2 separate regions of the Homo sapiens genome follow, and region 1 is linked to region 2. The links are contacts of gene promoters, found by promoter capture Hi-C in human tissues and cell types (Jung and others, 2019). All regions are on one chromosome and are shown on one strand. The core of a region is centred on a gene start or on the middle of the fragment in contact, and the rest is flanking DNA. Distances in the headings are between cores, read along the strand shown. Region 1 holds the start of JUND (JunD proto-oncogene, AP-1 transcription factor subunit). Region 2 overlaps RPL18A (ribosomal protein L18a).

What was found. Contacts are between HindIII fragments. The study calls those that stand out against the background at their distance.
Region 1: a contact is called between the fragment with the promoter of JUND here and a fragment that was not itself captured in region 2, in 1 of the 25 tissues and cell types used here (dorsolateral prefrontal cortex).

What each region holds. Positions count from the first base shown.
Region 1 is chr19:18,280,355-18,284,570 of GRCh38, forward strand. It overlaps JUND (JunD proto-oncogene, AP-1 transcription factor subunit), which reads right to left and starts at 1,268. Exons shown (of 1, transcript NM_005354.6): 1 at 1-1,268. The coding sequence starts at 1,130. The coding sequence ends at 87. MIR3188 (microRNA 3188) reads left to right here and starts at 1,723; the gene lies at 1,723-1,807. It overlaps LOC124904652 (a long non-coding RNA gene), which reads left to right and starts at 1,738. Exons shown (of 2, transcript XR_007067154.1): 1 at 1,738-2,776. RefSeq lists silencers at 1-166, 747-1,746 and an enhancer at 402-1,253. The HindIII fragment of the contact is 27,320 bases long and covers 1-4,216 here.
Region 2 is chr19:17,863,014-17,866,836 of GRCh38, forward strand. RPL18A (ribosomal protein L18a) reads left to right here. Exons shown (of 5, transcript NM_000980.4): 4 at 1-14; 5 at 158-306. The coding sequence ends at 250. Among named protein-coding and RNA genes, the nearest start is that of SNORA68, 2.3 kb to the left of the region's middle. RefSeq lists enhancers at 1-123, 1,863-2,002. The HindIII fragment of the contact is 9,841 bases long and covers 1-3,823 here.

The sequences.
Region 1 (4,216 bases), core at 18-2,517, 420 kb after region 2:
CCTCTCCAAGTCCGGGGCGCCCACGACACCCCCCCGCGAGCCCGCCCCTTGGGGAGGGTGGCCGCGCATGCGCCCCGCGCGCGGACTCAGTACGCGGGCACCTGGTGCTGGGGCAGCAGCTGGCAGCCGCTGTTGACGTGGCTGAGGACTTTCTGCTTGAGCTGCGCCACCTGCTCGCGCAGCAGGCTCGCCGTGGACGCCAGCTCCGTGTTCTGACTCTTGAGGGTCTTCACTTTCTCTTCCAGGCGCGAGATGCGCTCCAGCTTGCGCTTGCGGCACTTGGAGGCGGCGATGCGGTTGCGCAGCCGCTTGCGCTCCGCCTTGATGCGCTCCTGCGTGTCCATGTCGATGGGCGACAACGGCGGGCTCTCGCCGAAGCTCGGCACGTCGGGCACCGTCTGTGGCTCGTCCTTGAGCGCAGCCAGGCGCGGCGGCCCCAACGCGCCTGGGGGTGGCGGCGGCGGGAAGGGCACAGGTTCGGCAGCGAAGGCGACCGTCGCGGCGCCCCCCGCGCCCCCGGCGCCGCCCGCGTAGCTGCTCAGGTTCGCGTAGACAGGCGCTTCGGGCGCGGCCGCCGCCGGGGCCAGCTCGCCGGGGGGCGCGGAGCCCGTGGCCGTGCCCGAGGGCCCCCCGGCGGCGGCGGCGGCGGCGGCAGCGGCCGCGCCCGCGCCGAGCTGGTTCTGCTTGTGTAAATCCTCCAGGGCCTTGACGAAGCCCTCGGCGAACTCCTGCTCCTCGCTGGCCGCCACCTTGGGGTAGAGGAACTGTGAGCTCGTCGGCGTGGTGGTGACCAGCCCGTTGGACTGGATGATGAGGCGCTCGAGCTCGGGGGAGGCCAGCTTCAGCAGCCCCAGGTCGGGAGAGGCGAGCAGGCCGTCGGGGGGTGCCGCGCTGGGGGCGCCGTCGGCGCGCAGGGGGGTAGGAGGCGGCGCGGCCGCAGGCTTGAGCGCTGCCGCCACCTGCTCACTCAGGCTCAGCGTCAGCGCGTCCTTCTTCATCATGCTGCCGGCCGCGGCCGTCGGGGGCGCCCCGGGGAACAAGCGGCCCGGGGACGCGAAGCTGCCGCCGCTGCCACTGGCGCCGCCGCCCAGGCCGCTCAGCGCCTCATCGCCGTAGAAGGGTGTTTCCATCCTCCGCCTCCCCCGCCGCGCCGGCCCGGGGGGGAGTGGCCGCGGCCTCCCGGGGGGCCCGCGCCCCCCCGTCCGCTCGGCCCTGCGCCCGCCCCGGCCGCGGCCGCAGCGCCCGGCCCTCCACTGGCGGCGGCTCCTGCGCCGCGCCACTTGTGCGCCCTCTTATAGCCTCGGCTCGGCGCGATGAGCTCACCGCCCCCGTTCGCCATTGGGTGCGGGTGACGTCGCTCATTTGCATGGAGGGGCGGGGCCAAGCCGCCGACGCCCGCCCGGCCGCCGTTGCCCCGGCGACGCGCGGTAAACGCCACAACAGCGCGCTGCCTTGTGGGTTGACGTCATGGGGGCGGCCGCGCGCCCGGGCCGGGTCACCCCGCCCCGGGACCGCTGTGTACGACCGATCTCCCCGGCGCCGCCTCCGCCAAGGCACGTCCCGGGTGGCGTGATGGGCCCGGGCCACCAGGCGCCCGCCCGCCCCGAGGCCCCGCCCCGTGTCCGCGCGTGGGGCCCCGGCCGGGCGGGGGCGGGGGCGGGGGCGGTGCCGGCCTCCGGGGACTGGAGGGGGATGGGGTCCCGCATGGCTAAATAACTCCTTGGCGCCTCCTGCTCTGCTGTGCCGCCAGGGCCTCCCCTAGCGCGCCTTCTGGAGAGGCTTTGTGCGGATACGGGGCTGGAGGCCTGGTGGGGCTGTGTCCGGGGGCTCGCCGGGGGTGTGGGGAGGTCTGCGTTCCTCACCCTCCCTCCTTCCTTCCCTCCCTCCCTCCACCCCGCGTGTGATTGCTCAGGAAGAGACGGGAGGGGAGAGGAGGGTCGCCAGAAGTTGCTGAAAGCGCTTGGATCCTGATCATTTTCACTGAGTGCGTTCTAGAACCAGGAGTCCTACTTCCTGCCTTTACAGATGGGAAACTGGGCTCAGAGAGGTGGAGTGACCATCCCCCGAGAGTTAGCTAGGAGTCACAGCAGGGCCCGGGCTGTGACTAGGCCTGAGCTCTTGTCCACCCTTAGAACCCTAGAACCTGGGAGTCCAGGCCCCTGCGCAGCCCCTTCCTTCCGCCGCCCACGTTTTAACCCCAGGTCTGCCAGGGCTGTGATGTCCTGGGCGAGGGTGCCCAACTCCAGGGGCTGGGCTGATGAGGCAGGAATGCCGGGTATAATTATTACATGCTTGTTACCACTATCATGGCTGTTAGGGCTTAATGAGCCACTATTAAGACTGGCTGGGAAGGGGGTGTGAGGGAGGAGAGATGGACCCACCCCACCAATACTCACAAGGGATCCTTAGGACATCTGGATCTGACCTACAGCCTCTGCATGCACCCCTCCAGCTCCCCACCTCTGTCTGAATGGAGCCCACACCCTCCTTTCCCTGACCTCCTTCCCCTCACTCTCTCTGATCCTTGGCCTCCCAGTTGCAGGACTAATCGTACCTCTGGGCCTTTGCACGTGCTATGCTCTCTGCTTGGTACTCCCTTCCCCCAGTGCAAAGATGTGTCTTCAGGAAGTGCCCCACCCTCAGACTTTACTCCTTTATTGTAGCCTCTGAATCTGCCAGAATGATGGAGTGGACCATAGTCCCTGAAGGTCAGGGACATTGCCTATGCTGAGCCTGCTGACAGGGCCTCGCATAGAATGGATGCTCAGTATTAAAGGTGAATGCGGGGCTGGGTGTGGTGGCTCATGCCTGTAATCCCAGCACTTTGGGAGGCCGAGGCAGGCAGATCACTTGAGGTCAGCAGTTCAAGACCAGACTGGCCGAAATACAAAAATACAAAAAAAAAAAAAAATACGAAAATTAACCGGGTGTGGTGGTGTGCACCTGTAATCCCAGCTACTCAGGAGGCTGAGACATGAGAATCGCTTGAACCCGGGAGGCAGAGGTTGCAGTGAGCTGAGATTGTGCCACTGCACTCCAGCCTGGGAGACAGAGTGAGACTCCAGTCTCAAAAAAAAATAAAAAATAAAGGTGAATGCAACAAAAGGTTGCTTGTGTGGGTGGTCTCTAGCCTCAGTTTGTCTGCCTGGCCAGTGGGCATGCGTTACTCCTTTTCTATCCTCCTTACTCACCTGGCTCTGCCCCCAACTGGGGCATGAAGGCCATAAGGGAGGCTGTCCTCATCACCAAGAGAGGTGGCCTGTCGGCCACACGCGGTGACTCCTGCCTGTAATCCCAGCACTTTGGAAGTCTGAGGCAGGCATTTGAGGTCAGGAGTTTGAGACCAGCCTGACCATCATGGTGAAACCCCATCTCTATTGAAAATAAAAATTAGGCTGGGCGCAGAGGCTCACGCCTGTCATCCCAGCACTTTAGGAGGCCAAGGCAGGCTGATCACGAGGTCAGGAGATCAAGACCATCCTGGTTAACACGGTGAAACCCTGTCTCTACTGAAAAATAAAAAAAAAAATTAGCCGGGCATGGTGGCGGGCGCCTGTAGTCCCCAGCTACTCGGGAGGCTGAGGCAGGAGAATGGCATGAACCCGGGAGGCAGAGCTTGCAGTGAGCCGAGATCACACCACTACACTCCAGCCTGGGCAACAGAGCGAGACTCCGTCTCAAAAAAAAAAAAGAAAAAAGAAAAGAAAAAAAAATTAGCCAGGTGTGGTGGCAGGTGCCTGTAATCCCAGCTAGTCGGGAGGCTGAGGCAGGAGAATCGCTTGAACCCGGGAGGTGGAGGTTGCAGTGAGCCGAGATTGCGCCATTGCACTCCAGCCTGGGCTACAGAGTGAGACACTGTCTCAAAAAAAAAAAAGAAGAAAAAAAAAATAGGCTGGGCGAGGTGGCTCACACCTGTAATAAGCACTTTGGGAGGCTGAGGCGGGCAAGTCATCTGAGGTCAGGAGTTCGAGACCAGCCTGGCCAATATGGCAAAACCCTGTCTCTACTAAAAATACAAAAATTAGCCAGGCATGGGGAGCGCACCGGTAATCCCAGCTGCTCTGGAGAAAGGAGAATCACTTGAACCCAGGAGATGGAGGTTGCAGTGAGCTGAAATCATGCCACTACACTCCAGCCTGGGCAACAGGGCAAGACTCCATCTTAAAAATAATAATAATAATAATAATAATAATAATAATAATAATAATAAAGACCT
Region 2 (3,823 bases), core at 665-3,164:
TCAAGCAGTTCCACGTGAGTGCCCTGGGGGACTCCCCTGGAGGGAAGTGCCTGCTCTGACGCAGGAGCCCAGTGGGGGGCGGCTACACCTTGGTGGCCCCACAGGATGGGGTGTTAAGAGGCTTCCAACCCCCTCAACATGCCTCCCTTCCTCACAGGACTCCAAGATCAAGTTCCCGCTGCCCCACCGGGTCCTGCGCCGTCAGCACAAGCCACGCTTCACCACCAAGAGGCCCAACACCTTCTTCTAGGTGCAGGGCCCTCGTCCGGGTGTGCCCCAAATAAACTCAGGAACGCCCCGGTGCTCGCCGCATGTTTTCTTTGCACACTGCAGAGCTCAAAGGGGTGCTATGAGAGGCCGGCCCAGTCAGCTCCTGGGGTGCAGCTGAGCTGCCATTTCTTTGTCCTGGGAGGGGTCTTCAGTGCAAACAAACAAACCCTCACATCCTCCTGTCCTGGAGTGGGCCCTCCAGGCGCCCCCACCCCTGAGCTCCCTCTTGCTTGGTCAGTTCTCAGCCCTGCTGGCAGCCCTGGGCTATGAGCTGCAGGGGTACTGTCTGTCCTGGGCCCTAAATCTGTCCCAACTGCCTTGTGAGACACAGGCCTCCCAGGCTCCCCTGCTGAGTCTGGACCAGGGAGAATCTCCCTAGATAGTGGGGTTGGCGTTCACTCCCTGGGGATTCTCCTAAGTCTCTGGTTCCCAAAGTTTTCAGAGTAGACACAAGTGGGCACCCGAGGGGCGCTCTCTGCTGCTTGGGGGCTGTTTCCCTTTCACTGGTTGGGGGCCTCTTAGATGACGCCCTCATCTTGCCCAAGGAGGTCAAGGACTCACCACAGGTACTCATCTCTGGGAAACTGCCTCAGGCCTGGAAAATTCCAGGCATGACACTAATCCCACCCTGGCTGAGTCCTTCTGTCAGGTGGAGGCTAAGCTGGCATTGGAGAAGTTTGAGACACAGCCAAGAGCTCAGGCTCTGGGAGCCTCCCATCCTTTGTTGCGTGACCTTGGGCAGCCCTGTTCTGGGCCAGCGGCCCTTCTGGGGCTTGCTGTCTTGATCTCAACATCGGGTTCCACATTGATGTGGGAAGTGACGCTGTGCAGGTGCTGGGGTCAGCCTATGGGGCCCTCCTTTGTCCCAGAGAGCCCAGGACCAGGAGGAAGCCAGGACTAGGTAGTAGTTACGGCTTTTTGAAACAGGGTCTTGCTCTGTCGCCCTGGCTAGAGTGCAGTGGAGAGATCGTGGCTTACTGTAGCCTCGACCTCCTGGGCTCAAGTGGTCCTCCTGCCTCAGCCTCCCAAGTAGCTGGGACTACAGGGGCACCACCACACTCAGGGCAAGGACACAGCCTTTCCTCTACCTGTGGAGGAGCTGTGTGGTTTCCAGGAAACCAGGCCTTTTCCAGCCTCACCTGTGGGGTGTTGTAACACCCAGGAACTTGGAGAGGCGCCCAGAACCTGGGCAGGGTCAGCACACAAGCACCCATTCTGCGTAAGACCCAGGCCTGAGGACAGCCCTGTAGACCACAGAACCCCACGGGTCCCGTCCCCAACAACTGGCTCCTTCCCACCCTAGGGCCTTCGCACTTGCCTGGAATACTACAGATTCCCCCAGGCTGGCCTCACTCGAGTTTTACAAACTGCACGTGGGTTCCCGGGACTGGGCTATATTTGATTTCTATCCCCCACTAGTTCTGAGAGGGCAGGGGCTGTGTGTGTCACCCAGTGTATCCAGGAGGGGCTCAACTTTCCATGGTATCCTTTTTGTTTCGTGAAAGCTCTTTACATATGCGGGGCAAAAGCTTGAGAAGAGTCATACATTTTCCCAGGATATCTTTCTTTTTTTGAGACGGAGTCGCGCTTGGTTGCCCATGCTGGAGTGCAGTGGCACAGTCTCAGCTCACTGCAACCTCTGCCTCCCAGGTTCAAGGGATTCTCCTGCCTCAGCCTCCAGAGTAGCTAGAATTACAGGTGCCTGCCACCACGCCTGGCAAATTTTTTGTATTTTTAGTACAGACGGGGTTTCACCATGTGGGCCGGGCTAGTCTGGAACTCGACCTCATGCCACCTGCTTTGGCCTCCCAAAGTGCTGGGATTACAGGTGTGAGCCACCCCGCCTAGCCCAGGATATCTTTTGATGTTCCTTAGAGTATATTGGATGGGGGGTGCTAGCTGGAAATCTTAAAATTTTGCCTGAATTTCATTCATCTTGTGGTTTCTAGTACAAACTCTCCTTTCTCCATAAGGGAATCTTCATACTTAAGTGCCACCCAGAAAAGAAAATACATTTCCTAACCTCCATAGCTATGGCCAGGTGTGGCTCATGGCTGTCATCTCAGCACTTTGGGAGGCTGAGGTAGGAGGATCACTTGAGGCCAGGAGTTTGAGACCAGACTGGTAGACATAGTGAGACCCTGTCTTTACCAAGTAACATTAGCTGGGTGTTGCGGTGCACACCTGTAGTCCCAGCTACACGGGGGCCTGAGGTGTGAGAATCACTTGAGCCTGGAGGTTGAGGCTGCAGTGAACCATGATCATGCCACTGTACTCCAGCCTGGAAACAAGACGAGACCAAACAAAACAAAAATACAGTACTGATGTGCCATTTCTGAGAAAGAACGCCTCTGGCTGGTGTGGACATGATGGCCAGTGCTGCAGCAGTCATTTTGGACTATGAAGAAGCAACACACAGGAGCAGTGAGGGAGAAGGATCTCCGGTACTTGACCCTGTGCAGTGCTGCCCCCGTCCCTGAGGCTTGACCCTTCTACCCCCTTGATTAGAACACGGGGAGGAGACATGAGTCCTGCTTAGGCTGTAATGGAGCTGCTCTGTTAGATGTGACCTTACCTTACCTTGAGCTGGGCCTGAAGCAGGGCGTGGCACTGTGGACTCAGGCCGTAACTGCCTGGAAGTCCCTGCCCTCTCTGAGCCATTTCTTCCTGTATAAAGTGAGGGCGGTGATCCCTCCAGGCTGCAGGGCAGGCGAGGTGATATTAGGTGAGTTGGAGGATGAGAGATCAGGAGAGTGGAAGGCTCACGGCCCCACCAAAGCCCACTGCATACCCTCATCTCCACCTCAGTCCCCTCCCTGTGCCTTGGAGCCCCTCCAGGGCTTCAACCACGTGGCAGCAGCCTGGGAACCACTTGGGAGAGCTCTGCCCCAACCAGCTGAGACATGGAGGCCAATCCCATTATTGAGGGGCCATTGACAGGATGAATGTGCTCCCAGATCACTAGCCTGCACCTATTCACCTACCTTGGCACACTCAGCCTCTCATAAATGTGCCCAGAAGCCCCTCTACCACCGAATTCCCCCACCCCCTGCCAAACCCCATCCTTCCATTCAGTCAGATTCCTCCACCATCCAACCAGCTACCTGTCCATCCATTCGTCCACTCAATCCACCCACCCCATCCATTCATCCTTCCACTCATCCACCTACCCATCCATCCATCCACCCAACCATCCAGCCATCCATCCAGCTATCCACCCACCCACCCATCCATCAACTCACCCATCCATCCATCCACCCATCTATCCATCCATCCATCTACCCACCCACCCATCCACCCACCTGCCCATCAACCCACCCACCCATCTATCCATCCATCCATCCATTCACCCATTCAACCACCCACCAGTCGATACATACATCCATTTATCCATCCATCCATCTATCCACCCACCCATCCATCCATTTACACATCCTCCCATCTGTCATGTCAAATCCTCTACCCAAACTCCACGCGCCCACCCCCACCCCACACACACCATCCCTTTGTTGCAGCCTCAATTGTCCTTGAGTCCCTACTTTGTGCAGGGGCC